Linked DNA regions of Homo sapiens: region 1 is linked to region 2. Evidence: promoter capture Hi-C in human tissues and cell types (Jung and others, 2019). All regions are on one chromosome and are shown on one strand. Each heading gives the region's core, a stretch centred on a gene start or on the middle of the fragment in contact. The rest is flanking DNA. Distances are from core to core; before and after follow the strand shown.

Evidence for each region. The method cuts DNA at HindIII sites, captures the fragments that hold promoters and counts their contacts. A contact is called where the count stands out against the background at its distance.
Region 1: a contact is called between a fragment that was not itself captured here and the fragment with the promoter of KDM2B in region 2, in 1 of the 25 tissues and cell types used here (spleen).

Annotation. Positions count from the first base shown.
Region 1 is chr12:121,519,798-121,526,474 of GRCh38, reverse strand. It overlaps KDM2B (lysine demethylase 2B), which reads left to right. Exons shown (of 23, transcript NM_032590.5): 9 at 5,375-5,490. Among named protein-coding and RNA genes, the nearest start is that of KDM2B-DT, 57 kb to the left of the region's middle. RefSeq lists an enhancer at 3,074-3,263. The HindIII fragment of the contact is 6,227 bases long and covers 1-4,759 here.
Region 2 is chr12:121,578,460-121,585,696 of GRCh38, reverse strand. KDM2B (lysine demethylase 2B) reads left to right here and starts at 4,674. Exons shown (of 23, transcript NM_032590.5): 1 at 4,674-4,911; 2 at 6,751-6,895. The coding sequence starts at 4,786. KDM2B-DT (KDM2B divergent transcript) reads right to left here and starts at 5,186. Exons shown (of 4, transcript NR_183427.1): 1 at 4,434-5,186. RefSeq lists enhancers at 1,644-2,577, 2,578-3,513, 4,449-5,384 and silencers at 4,954-5,003, 5,084-5,393, 6,553-6,632. The HindIII fragment of the contact is 18,580 bases long and covers 1-7,237 here.

The DNA.
Region 1 (6,677 bases), core at 397-2,896, 56 kb after region 2:
ATACCTACTTTGAACTCCAGTAGCTTGGGAGTCAGGAGACTTGGGATCTGGTCCTCCTTCTTGACTCTTGACTATGTGAGAACTATTTGCTCATTTAACAAACTTTCTTTTTTTTTTCCCCTGAGGCAGAGTCTTGCTCTGTCACCCAGGCTGGAGGGCAATGGCACAATATTGGCTCACTGCAACTTTTACCTCCTGGGTTCAAGTGATTCTCCTGCCTCAGCCTCCTGAGTAGCTGGGATTACAGGCGTGTGCCACCACACCCAGCTAATTTTTTCTATTTTTAGTAGAGACGGGGTTTCATCATGTTGGCCAGGCTGGTTTCAAACTCCTGACTTCAAGTGATCCGCCTGCCTTGGCCTCCCAAAGTGCTGGGATTACAGGTGTGAGCTACCAGTCTCGGCTTCATTTAACAAACTTTCTTAAGGGCCCACTTGGTGCCAGATGATGTGGGGGGCCTTGGAGGGGACATAAGACAGATCCCCTCCCTCCTGAGAGCAGCTTATCCAGCCAGGTGGCATCCAGGGTGGCAGAGGCCAGTATGGGGACCTTATTTGTCATATAAGTGGGGATGGCAGTGCCTGGGGAAGACCCAGGGATCTGTGACTTGGGCTGGCCTAAAGTTATTTCCCATCCTTGCATTCTAGAAAGAACCACTGAAGACCCAAATATCATGGTAGCCCCAGGTATTTCTTACACTCCAGCAAGTCTGAGAAGAAATTCCTTAATGGTGTCACGTGGTTGGGCCTCAGACGATCCATCTATCAAATGGGTCTAAAGCAGGGAAGGGGACTGGATGGGTTGGGGCCGTGGGAAACTGGGCAGTACCTGCTCAGCCAGTCCAGCTAGGGCCAGGTGGGAATCCAGACCTTCCTATTTTTCTAGGTGGAAGGCAGCATTTCAGATTGTCACATGGAATGTACTGGCGTGGCACGGTGGCTCACGCCTGTAATCCCAGCACTTAGCACTTTGGGAGGCTGAGGTGGGCGGATCACCTGAGGCTGGGAGTTAGAGACCGGCTTGGCCAACATGGTAAAACCTCATCTCTAGTAAAAATTTGTGTGCCTGTGATTCCAGCTACTCAGGAGGCTGAGGCAGGAGAATGGCTTGAACCTGGGAGGTGGAGGTTGCAGTGAGCCGAGATGGCACCACTGCACTCCAGCCTGGGTGACACAGTAAGGCTCTGTCTCAAAAAAACAAAAACCCAACAAAACAACAACAAAAGAAATATCCCCATTTTTAAACATGGGGTGGCGTGAAGTAATTGGCCCCTGGTCCCAACTATGAGGTCCTTGAAGGGAGAGTATCCTTACTTCATGTCAGCAGCCACAGGTTCGTTCCTGATCCTGGCCCGGCGCAGGGAGTTCACTGATGTCGGTGAAAGAAGCCAGGGTCCGGTTGGGTTGTGGGCGTCTGTGAGGTGTCCCTTGCCCAGTTCTGAGACCTCTAGGTTTATTCCTGCTAAAGCCACAGAGGTGGAGGCAGATGTGGGTGGGGCCTTTGGATTCCGAGTCCTGAGCAGACGCTCAGGTTGTGGGTGAGCCCCACCTGCCCCTGCTGCCCTTCTTGGGCCCCCTGAGGTCCCAGAGAATGTGCTGCTTTGTGTATCACTGGCTTCCCATCTATGACTGCATCTGTCCCTGGTCGCTTGGCCTGAATAGCCTCTGTTTATTGCCTTCATATTGTCGATGACTCTGGCTGGAAGCAGGAGGCAGATGCCAGCGTTCCCAGCCCAGGCAGCAGCCTGGGAGCACCGGCTCTCATGCTTCCTGGGCTGTCGAGAGGCCATCGGAGGAGGGGTATGGATGGGGCCCACAAACGCTGTTATTTCCACACCTCCTTCTTACTGAGGGAGGCATGTGGGTAATGAAGCAGATGTGAGCAGAGCTGGGGGAGGGACGCAGTGGCGGCTAATCCAGGGGTGGCTGCCTGACCCACCCTTGAGGCCCTGGCTGCGAAGGGGAGTGGGTAAAAGCTTCTAGAATCCCTCGAGTGTCTGGGCGTGCAGATCCCCTGCCCCCTCCTCGCAGCAGCAGCTCTCCTCTGTGTTCCTCTTTCCTCACGTGTCAGGGCAACAGATGTAAGTCAGGTGCGTTGGCCTCTGCACCTGCCAGGAGAACAGGGAGAGTCCAGGGCTGGGAAAGATGGATGCATGTGGGCACCATCCTCTACCAGAGCCCTTGTGATCGACAGAGACAACCACAGATACCAATGCCAATTGCTTATATGGATTCAGGACTTGCTCACCAAGTTCCCCAGAAGGGAGGGGAGTGGAGGGGACAGGATGGAACCCTAGCCCCTGGACTTGGGCTTTCTGCAGGGAGGGAGGTAGGCTTGTGGGGCCATATAAGATGCACCTGCCTGTGCATCACATGACCCGGTGGTCCCGGGTCCCAATCTTAGGAAATGTTGCTAGGATAACGGGGATGGCGACAATAACAGCATTCAATAGCATGGTTCCACTTGGTGGAAACATGGAAATGTTGAGGTCAGCCTGCAGGCAGCAGAGGCAGGAGACTGAAGCGGATGTGGAGACAGAGGCTCTTTCAGGGCGGCAGCCATGCTTCTGTGCAGAGGAGGGTGAAGGTCGTGGGATGGGAAGCTGGGGAGCTCGACGGCCGCTTGCAACCGCACAGAGCAGCTGTCTTTCATGGCTCACGCCAGAGACCCGGGGAGCCAGGCACAGAACGAGGTTGCCTAAAGCAAAGCCCTCGTGCCTGTACCCGGCAGCACTGGGCTTCTGGTGATGAGCTTTCCCTTGCTCTCCCCTGAGGATGGCCAGCTCTGTTCCATGCGTTGCCCTGGTGGGAAGGGACAGCGGCTGAGTGTCCACTGCGGATGCCAGCAGTGGCCCCGCAGTCTGTGCTGTCTTCCAGGCAGGAGCGTTGCTCCCAGCAGTGGTGACCACCCATGACTCAGGGCTGGCGTGTTTCATTGGGGGACAGACTGGAACCGCTCGGGCTTGGGGGGCAGAGGCAGTCGCTGTAATTTTCCTCAGAGCAAAAGAATAAAGTGCATGGCTGGGAGAGGAGGGGACAGCGGCCTCCAGGGCCAGGCCCTTCAAGGTGCAGGGTCTTGGGGCACCGCCACCCTTCCCTCTGCTGCACCATTCCCCCAGCCAACCCTCCTCTGTCCTTCACTGTGAGTTGCTCCGCCTCTGTCCGCCCTTGTCCTTATTTCTCTCTGCGTTTCTCCTTTTGCCTCCCCTCTGTATTTCCCAGCCTTTCCCCCGGGACTTGCAGTCCTGTGCAGAACCTTTGATGCAGCGGCAGCTGTGCAGCGTGCTGGCTAAAAACGGAGCCGCTGTCGCTTGCCAGCTGTGACTCATTCAGCAAGTGGCTTCCCCCTTTGTGCCCTCAGTTTCAGCATCTGTGAATTGGGGTTGATTCTCCTCCTGCCCATCTCCTAGCCCCACGCTGTGTGACCCGGCAGCCAGGAGCCACACACATGTCACCTGAGCACTTGCAGTATGGCCACTGTGAATTGCAGTGCAGTAGCTGTGTGTCCCAGTGAATGAGGGGCTTTCTCCCAGCCTTCATGGACCATGCAGAGCCCGACTTCCCGGGCTCAAAATCCTGATAGGTGACTTCATTTTTCTGTGCCTCACTTTCCTCATCCATAATTTTTGTTGTTGTTTTTGGCTCTGTCTCCCAGGCTGGAGTGCAGTGGTGCGATCTTGGCTCACTGCAACCTCCACCTCCGGGGTTCAAGCAATTCTCATGCCTCCGCCTCCCAAGTAGCTGGGACTACAGGCATGTGCCACCAAGCCTGGCTAATTTTTGTATTTTTAGTGGAGACGGGGTTTCGCCATATTGACCAGGCTGGTCTCAAACTCCTGACTTCAGGTGATCCTCCCGCCTCGGTCTTCCAAAGTGCTGGGATTATAGGCATGAGCCACCGTGCCTGGCCCTCATCTGTAAATTGAGGTTGAATATAGTATATACTTTTTTTTTTTTTTTTGAGACGGAGTTTCACTCTTGTTGCCCAGGCTGGAGTGCAATGGTGCGATCTCGGCTCACTGCAACCTCACCTTCCGGGTTCAAGCGATTCCCCTGCCTCAGCCTCCTGAGTAGCTGGGATTACAGGCATGCACCAACACGCCTGGCTAATTTTGTATTTTTAATAGAGACAGGGTTTCTCCATGTTGGTCAGGCTGGTCTCGAACTCCCGACCTCAGGTGATCCGCCCACCTCGGCCTCCCAAAGTGCTGGGATTACAGGCGTGAGCCACCATGCCCGGCCATGAATATAGTATATACTTTTTCGGGATTTCATGAGAATTAATGAGTTAAGGCCTGAAAAGCCCTTAGACCACTGTGCCTGGCACAAGGTGGGCCCTCTATTATCGTTTCTTCTTTTTTTTTCTTTTTGAGATGGTTATCTCTGTTACCCAGGCTGGAGTGCAGGGGTGTGATCACAGTTCACTGAAGCTTCAACCTCTGGAGCTCAAGTGATCCTCCCACCTCAGCCTCCTGAGTAGCTGGGACCGCAGGTGTGCACCACCATGCCCTGCTATTTATTTAATTTTTTTTAGAGATGAGGTATTACTATATTGTCCAGGCTGATCTCAAACTGCTGAGCTCAAGCGATCTTCCCGCCTCAGCCTCCCAAAGTGCTGGGATCACAGAGGTGCACCACTACACCTGGCCCTGCCTCCGTTTCCCTTGTGATGGTGACTGTGTCTGGCTCCAGGCTAGGAGTTTGGAGAGATGAAAAACTGCGGCTCCCAGCTGTGAGAAGCTGCAGGAGAGACTTACCAGCAGCCTGTGGGGCAGAGTGGAGGGCAGAGCTGAGGGGGGCATGCAGGCGTTGTGTGACCAAGGAGACCACATGGAAAGGGGCCTGGGTGGAGTTTGATGACAAGAAGATGGACTTGGGCGGAGGAAAGTGCTTGGGTCCTGCAGCTCTGGCAAGACGTCACTCCTGCGTCATGGTTCCCAGCCATCCTTTGTGACCCCTCTGGGATGGTGAGGAAAGACTCTGGACACATGTGCCACCTGGGAGGGGAGGTGAGGCTCCGTGGCCTGCATGGAGGTGGAGAAAGGGCCTGCCTCTCTGCTGGCCATTGCAGCCAGGTCCCCAGAGGAAGCTTTTGTCATCACGGTCCTCAAGAAGTGGGGGCTGATCTGCAGCTTCCCAGCTCCTGACTTGAGCCAGACAGTGGCTGCTCGAGGCTGCAAGTCTGAGTCCTCTCGGCGGCTCAGGCCTGGGCGTTGTGCAGCAGGCATTGCTGGGCGCCGCTGCCCCAGGCCCTGGCTGCTCTTCTCCACTCCCTGCACCCTCCTGCACGCTCGCTCTCCCTCCCTGCAGCCTTGTGAGGTGTGGGAGCCCACAGGGGCCAGCGGCTCATCCTCTCCTTGCCCTTCCCACCCCAGGTTGGATCCATGCCGTCTACACCCCTGTAGACTCTTTGGTGTTCGGCGGAAACATCCTGCACAGCTTTAACGTGCCCATGCAGCTGCGGATCTACGAGATCGAGGACAGGACGCGGGTAAGGAGGTTCCCTTCTGTCCTCGCGTGCGCGCCTGGCCCCTGAGCTCTGCCGGTGCTCGGTGTGTGGGACAGGTCATACTGAAGTCCTCCACAGTTCCCCTCTCCCTCCCGATTCCTCTCTCAAGCTGGCTTCAGTCCTGGTTCTGTGGCGGGGGAGGGGGGGCAGGGGAATGCCTGTAGGAGCCACACCCGGAGGCCCTGGAGTTTCTGTTCACCTCCAGGTTGGGGGCAGCCAAAACCCCCTTGTGGAAGAGGAAGTGTCTCTGAGAAAGCACCGTGAGATTTCAGGGACCTGCCTCTTCCTCCTCACGTGGAGAAAGTGGTGTGAGGGATTAGGGGGATTTGGTCGCTGTTGTTTGGAGGATGGGTGTGGACCTTGGAAGGGCCTGTCCTGGTCTGAGGTCAGGTCTTGGCTATATGTTCTCCCAGGGACCCCAGATCTGACTGGGGAGGAAGCCTGAGGAAGCCAGTGCCTGAGTCCCCCTGGGTACTGTCTCTGAGGTAGTCTCCATGTCTGCTGAGGACGTCTCTAGTTTCCTGGGGCCGAGGCTTTTCTCTGCCCTTGACAGGGACGGTGCTAGTTTCCCAGACGTCAAGTTTCCCTCACTCACCCCATGTCCTACGAACATGGGCGGAGGCTTAGGTAACTGATGTGTGTCCTTCGCTCCACAAGTGTCCCCTGAAAAGGACAAGTGGCCTGAACTTGCCATGGCCTTTCTCGTGCTAGGACTTGATCACGTGTCCCTAGGCACATAAGACAGGTCCCAAACTGGGTCAAAACTGAAGACTTGGGGCCGGGCGCGGTGGCTCTTGCCTGTAATCCCAGCACTTTGGGAGGCCGAGGTGGGTGGATCACTTGAGGTCAGGAGTTCGAGACCAGCCAGGCCAACATGATGAAACCCTGTCTTTACCAAAAATACAAAAAAGCTGGGCGTGGTGGTGTACGCCTGTAGTCCCAGCTACTTGAGAGGCTGTGGTGGGAGGGTCGTTTGAGCCCGGGAGGCGGAGGTTGCAGTGAACCGAGATCACGCCACTGCACTCCATCCTGGGCGACAGAGCCGGACCTGTCTCATACTAAAAAACAAAGAAACAAACAAAACCCAGAGACTTGGGGTAAAAAAGTCCCATTTCTTGTTCTACTTGTTCCTGTTTTTTCAACACAGCTATTCAAATATTCATTTTCTT
Region 2 (7,237 bases), core at 3,425-5,924:
TCTGGGAGGCCGAGATGGGCGGATCACCTGAGGTCAGAAGTTTGAGACCTGCCTGGCCAGTATGGTGAAACCCTGTCTCTACTAAAAACACAAAAATCAGCCGGGCATGGTGGTATGCGCCTGTAGTCCCAGCTACTTGGGAGGCTGAGGCAGGAGAATTGCTTGAACCCGGGAGGCGGAGGTTTCAGTGAGCCGAGATTGTGCCATTGTACTCCAGCCTGGGTGTTATAGCAAGACTCTGTCTCACAAAAAAAAAAAAAAAAAAAAAAGCATGTAGATACAGACATAACCCTTTTGGTTTCCTTACATGGTCCGCACAACTTAGTATTATTAGTATTCTGCATGTTGTTTAGTTTCGTTTTGGTTTGGAGACGGAGTCTCGGGATGTCACCCAGGCTGGAGTGCAGTGAATGATCTTGGCTCACTGCAACCTCTGCCTCCTGGGTTCAAGCGGTTCTTGTGCCTCAGCCTCCTGAGTAGCTGGGACTACAGGCGCACGCCACCACACCCAGCTAATTTTTGTATTTTTAGTAGAGATAGGGTTTTATCATGTTGCCCAAGCTGGTCTCGAACTCCTGAGCACAGGTGATCTGTCCGCCTTGGCCTCCCAAATTGCTGGGATTATAGGCATGAGCCACTGCGCCTGGCTTCACTCCAGATTTTTTATAATATTACTATGACTTTGTGCAAAGCCCCTCACATTTGCAGTACCTTTGAATCCTTGCCAAATCTCCATAAGGGGCTGTAATTCCCCACCTTTATGGCTGAGGCTCAAAGACAGGTTAACTTGCTTGGCCAAATTTTATAGCTAGGAAATAATGATAGGATTCGAACTCAGAGCTTACAGGAATCCAGAGCCCACAGGGTTGCCCACTATGCTAAGCCTCCCTTCAGGGCTGTCCCACAGAAGATGATAGAGTTATTCAAGATATTCTTTTTTTTTTTTTGAGACAGAATCCCCCTCTGTCACCCAGGCTTGAGTGCAGTGGTGCAATCAGCTCATTGCAAACTCTGCCTCCTGGGTTCAAGCAATTCTCCTGCCTCAGCCTCCCGAGTTGCTGGGATTACAGGTGTGCACCACCACGCTTGTCCAATTTTTGTATTTTTAATAGAGACGGGGGTTTCATCCTGTTGGCCAGGCTGGTCTTGAACTCCTGACCTCAGGTGATCCACCTGCCTCAGCATCCCAAAATGCTGGGATTACAGGTGTGACCCACAGCGCCCAGCCAATGATAGGGATATTCTGTATCTGCACCATTCAGTGCTGTCACTTCTAGCCCCTTCAAATGTAGGTACTGGGTTAAGGAGCTGAATTTTACATTTTATTTTAATTAAATTTAAGTAGCTGTATGTAGCTAATGTATCCCATCAAACAGCACAGCCTTAGAGTGCTTTCCAGAATTTGTTTTAACTCACCTACCAGGCTATATATACCTAAGAGGCTGATTTGATACAGGGTCCCCCTAATCAACCTTCCACAAACATTTGTGGAATGAATGAAGGGTCCATGGGGAAAGGGGGCCAAGGATATCAGCAAAGGTTTCCTAGAAGAGGCCATCTGATTACAGTGTGAATGCTTGCAGTGTTAGCCCTTAAACCACTCTCTCTGAGTGCCTGCCAAGGGCATGGCACTGCGTAGACTCCTGGGGATACCAGTTGGATATGAGGTTGTCCCACCTGCTCAGATCTTACAAATAAACTTCTCAAGGACAAATAGTTGGTGATAGGGTAGGAATCCTGAGACGTGGATGATCACTTTCAGATATATATTCTACTGACAGACTCAAGCACAAAGCTGCAATCCCTTATAGCTCTGTTTGCAATAGAAAAAGATTGAAAACCATCTAAAAGTTAGGGAACTAATTAAATCATTCTTGCACCATTTATCTGCCCAATGAAATGCTATGAAATCATTAGAAAGAATAAGGAAACTATAGCTGATGTGCTATAGCATTCCACATATGCTGATGTGGAATGATTAGATATCCTTAAATTAAAACAAAACAGGGCCAGGTGTGGTGGCTTACGGCTGTAATCTCAGCACTTTGGGAGGCCGAGGTGGGAGGAACACTTGAGCCTAGGAGTTGGAGACCAGCCTGGGCAACACGGCAAAACCCTGTCTCTACCAAAAATACAAAAATTAGCTGGGCATGGTGGTGCACTCCTGTAGTCTCAGCTACTTGGAAGGCTAAGGTGGAGCATTGCTGAGTCCAGGAGGTGGAGGTTGCAGTGAGCTGAGATTGTGTCACTGCACTCCAGCCTGGGCAACAGAGCAAGACCCTCTCTCAAAAAAAAGAAAAGAAAAATCAGGAGTTATGATAATCATATATGAATATGAGAACAACTTCAATTTCTTATCAAGATTCTGGTTTCTGAGAGCTACATCCAGTGTCCACCCTTTCCTTGGGAAGCTGCAGGTCCATCGTCCTACCCAGCCTCGAGTATGCCCCAATCTGCATGCCCCACGCTGCATCTTCTTTTCTCTAGCCTCTCTGTCTTTGGGCACAGAGTTGCTCAATCAACCTTTGATGAATGAAGAATGAATGGGGGTAACTCAGGCAGGATTTGACTGGGCCCTTTGTAAGATCGAGCAGGAGGGTCCAGGAAATAATTATTATTATGTTTCCAATACAACCGGCCCGGTGTTTTCCTGCAAGAAAAAGTACATCTCTGGGGTAAGCACCTTCACCTTCTCTCTTCCCTTACCTACTCTCCACTTCTCTGGGACAATTAGTCAACACTGGGAGCTCCAGGGTCTTGGCCCTTCCCCCTTTGGTCCAAAATAACCTCCTCCCCCACTTTGAGCAAATGCTTGGAATTCTTTCAACTGGAGGACAAAGCCTTTCATCTGCCAATTACTGATAAAGAGAAAATGCAAATATCGAGGGGGAAGGTGATTCATCAAGGGCCCAACATTTATTGAGTGGCCACTTAGGACCCGGCAGCAGGGCAGGCATTCTGGGGGAGGCCAAGGGGAACAAACCCCCGGCTGGCCCATTCTTTTCTCGTGTTTGCGGTTTCCTCGAGGTTTGTAAAGGGGGGGGATTAAATGAGGTGACTACCCAGCCCCTTCCCACTCTGACAGGCCAGGAACTCCTCGTGGAGGTGATAGATGGACTTAACTGTTTTTATACTAAGGTGGCTGCCATTGGACCTTTTTCTGATGCCAGCTTTTGGGGCCACTATGAGGCCACTTGGAGAGAAAGAAGGGCCTCAGGGAGAAAAAAGAATTAATTAGATGAAGCATTCTATTATATATTTTTTGCTTTATTTCACTTAATTCACTTTGCGTCACTCTCCAGCCCATGCAGCCTCCTTTGAACATGTTTATTTCATTATGGGGCAGTAGTGAGGCTGGTAAGTTACTAAAAAAAAAAAAAAAAAAAAAAAAAGCACGTGATGGCCAAGCCAGGCTCCAGTGTGAGCCCTGGCAGCGGCACATACGCGCTATGTGATCCTGGGTGAGTGGCTTTGCTTTTCTTAGTCCTAATTTCCTCCTTTGCAAAATGGGAACGAACAAGACGATTTCCCTTAAAGGGTTCTTGTGAGAAAGACAGGAACAAATAAAATGGTCCATGGTTCTGGACGGACTGAAGGCAGAACCGGCAGCACTCACACGAAGGGCTACTGATTGCACGCAGCAGCCAACGTGGGCGATTTCAGTTTGGAAACAAATTTTGATGTTTCCCAGCCTCATCCCTGCTTAAAAGATTTTTACAGCTAGTGAACATGAATGAAAACAAACTTCAAAGAGTAGCCTTTGAGGATGGGTGGGAAAGACTACAGTCAGATAGGACAGGAAACTTCTAAGGTGAGTGAGGGGGAAGCTGTCTCTTAGGACGGCCAATACGATGCTGATAGTGACATCGTATCTCCTGGTGGGGAAGCCACGTCCTCCCCACAGGTCTGTCTGATAGCCTGGGGACCATATGGGAGCACAGCAATCATTCAGATTCATAATTTCTCTGAGCTTCAGTTTCCCTATCTGCAAAATGACCTGCTCCAAGTATCCCACAGGGTTATGGCAGAAATAAAATGTCAGGCTCAAAGCCTGCTATCTACAATGTCCCTTTATCGTCTCCCTCTTGCCATGTCATTTTATCAGCATCTTTACCCGCAAGATCAGGCCTAGCAGGGCGCCACAGCTGGGGCTGGAGGAATGTTTAGGGCTAGCTTTTCTCAAGCCAAGTCGACCTGACTGTTGCTCATGATGGGAGGACAAGACAACCCAGGACCAGTGCTGGGGTAGTCAAAAACACTAGTAAGTGGACAGGGACCTAATGACACCCATGTATGTACGGAGGGTGCCGATACCTCCGCTAAGAAGCCCTGTAGGGGCTTCATCAAGGGCACTAGAGTTCCCCCCACCTATCCCAGAGCACCATGCACCTTTCCACCGACTTGTCTTCTATAAACTACCAACAAGGGCTTACCCTTCGCTCCTGTGCGGGCTGCGTTAGGAGGCGCCAGATCCAATTCTCTGCGTCTTTCGCTCCTGAGCATCTATCTGCTCCCCTTGCCGAGCGCAAGAACCTTTAAAAAATGTCCAACTTCTGTTTCAGGGCTGGTCGCCTAGTAAAGGAGTCCACAGAGGCGGGCAGAATGAATGAATGAAAGGCAACGTCTTCCGGTCAGCTGCGGACTGCAAAGGCTCTGGTCTGGCTGTATTTCCTGTACGTGTGTGTGTCCACATCTTTGAGTGCCGGGAGTTTAAAAGTTAGGCAGTCCTTATAGGTATGGAAGCCGAGCTAATTTCCTTCTGAGCCCCCCAAATGCCTCCTCCACATGGCGGGTCCGCAAATGGGGGGATCTGCAGAGGATCACCCCCCACGAAAAAGACATGCAGCAGAAAAGCAAAAAAAGAAAACAGTTATATATACAAAATGCTTTGAATTTGAGTCGGCCACACAGGTAATGTTGGGGGAGGGGTGGATGAAAGAAGAGGAAGAGGGGTAGCCCTGGGCAATGAGGGCAGGAACGGAGGTGGGGGGTCGTTTTTGGGGGTGCCAGGCCCCGGGGGCTTTCACGCCAGCATGCTCGGCTTGCATTTCCGCGCCTCCCGCTGAGGCCAGCCGTGCAAATCTGCACCTCCCTCCCCGCCCCCTCCTCCTTCCCTCCCTCCCTGCCCCGCCATCTCCGGGATGCGCCCGCCGCCTGCAACTCGGCCCTCCAAAAGTCAGCTCTGCACACAACTCCCGGGCGGCGGCGGCGCCTGCGTGCAGAGGCGCACTCGTGACCCAACAACAAAACAGCGATGCCACGGCGCTAACGGCGCCCGGTGCCTCCCGGGCTCCCTCCCCGCCCCATACCTCCTCGGGCCGCCGCCCCCACCCCCCCAAGCCCGGGCCGAGAGCCCCCCCAAATAGCCCGGCCGCGGGCTCCGAGCGCGATCGGCAACAATGTTTACGTTCCGGGGATTATGACGTCGACGCCTCCCCCCCCCCACAACTGCTGAAAATGGTTTCCTAGGACTTTGCAAACGGATCTGCCTAAGTGTTGGTGCAAAACTTTGTAGATCTCGGCTCTGGCTTGCTTTATTTATTTATTTTTTGGTTTGTTTTCTTTGGTCTTCCCTCCTTCCCCCCTCGGCCAAAATGCAGGGGGCAGGAGTGTTGACAATTAATTGGTGAACTCTCCTAAAAAAATGGAGGCAGAGAAAGACTCTGGAAGAAGATTGGTGTGTAGCTTTTTTTTTTTTTTTTTTTTTCCAAATCTGTATCTGGCATATGATAGATCTTTTTTTTTTTTTTTTTGGTTGTTTCTCGCTGCCTTTTCTTTCCTTTTCTGTATTTTGCAAGAGGACCGGGAAAAAAATATAATAAATTGCATGCAAAAGGAAGCAAGCTGCTTACTCCTCCAGCCCCTTGTGAGGCTTAGAGTCTCAGACACTTAAGTGGGGAGGTGGTATCGGGGAAAGGCGTGGAGGGGGGCTGAGCGGGCTCGGGGTTCGCCCGGAATCTGGGGGGCTGAGGGGCCGGGCGCTGGGCGGTGGAGGGAGGAGGCAGGGGGATGCGGGGAGTGGTGGGGGAGTCTCCTTAGGAAGTGAGTGTGCGCGCGCGCTTGTGGGGAGATGAGGCAGCTGCTGGTGCGTTTTGGGGTCTCCGATCCGAGCTTTGTGGCGGGCCGTCTGCCTCTCCCCCTTCCAAGCCCCGATTCTCCTCCCCCCACCTCCTCTTCTTGCACTGGCGGGCGGGCGGCGGGGGCGGCTGGGGTCTCAGCCCTTCCATTTCAGCTTTCCAGCTTCCCCGGTAGCTCGGGGGCGGCTCCAGCTTTAGAAATGCCGCCGGCCCCCGGTTCCGGCTTCCCGGCTCTGCCGCCGCGGCCGCTGGGGCTGCTGTTACCGCCGAGCCGGGCGCCGCAGCGGCTCCTCCTGGGGCCTACATTTGCCCCGCCAGCCCGTGTCCGGAGCCCCCTTCGCGGGTTACATAACCAGGCTCCCGGCCGAGTGGGCGAAGCCCAGCACATTTCGGGGGCGGGGGGCAGGGGAGGGTCCCCAGATGTCCCTTCAGTGCTTCCGAAGACACCGGAGGGGAGTACCCCGCGTAGAGCGCAGCTGGACCCTCGGGGTGCGGGCCCCTCTCCTTGTCCTGCTTTTCAGCATCTTTGGCAATTGCGCAAAGTTGCTTGGGTTGCAATGGTGGGGTGCAGGGGGCGCTCGGCTGCTGCACCTGTTAGTGCTGGGCCCAGGTTGAGAGGCGACCTCCAGCCCCCACAATAATGTCCCGGGCTCTCTGGTTTGGGTCCTCGCAGCGCCCGATTGACCGCCAGCGATACGACGAGAACGAGGACTTGTCGGACGTGGAGGAGATCGTCAGCGTCCGCGGCTTCAGCCTGGAGGAGAAGCTTCGCAGCCAGCTGTACCAGGGGGACTTCGTGCACGCCATGGAGGGCAAAGGTGAGGCGCCCCCACCCCGGGCCGCCCTCTGCGCTGCGGGCCGAGCGCACGTGGGGAGGGAGCTGCCGGTGGCTGGGTTCGTATTTCGCGCCCGCGTCCCCCATTCCAGGGGATCCGGTGACGAAACGAGGCCGAGCACTGGGGGGGTGGGGTGGGGTGGTGAGGGAGGAGGGCAGGCAGTAAGGGGGGCCGGGCATGGGCCTAGGCCCGGCCCGCGCCCACCACCAGCCCCAGGGTGGGCAGAGCCAGGGGGCCGGCGGACAGAGGGACCTGGAGATGGACAGGCGGACCGAGGGAGGGCGGGAGCGCCGCGTCCTCCCCCTCCCCGAGCCGGTCGCGCTC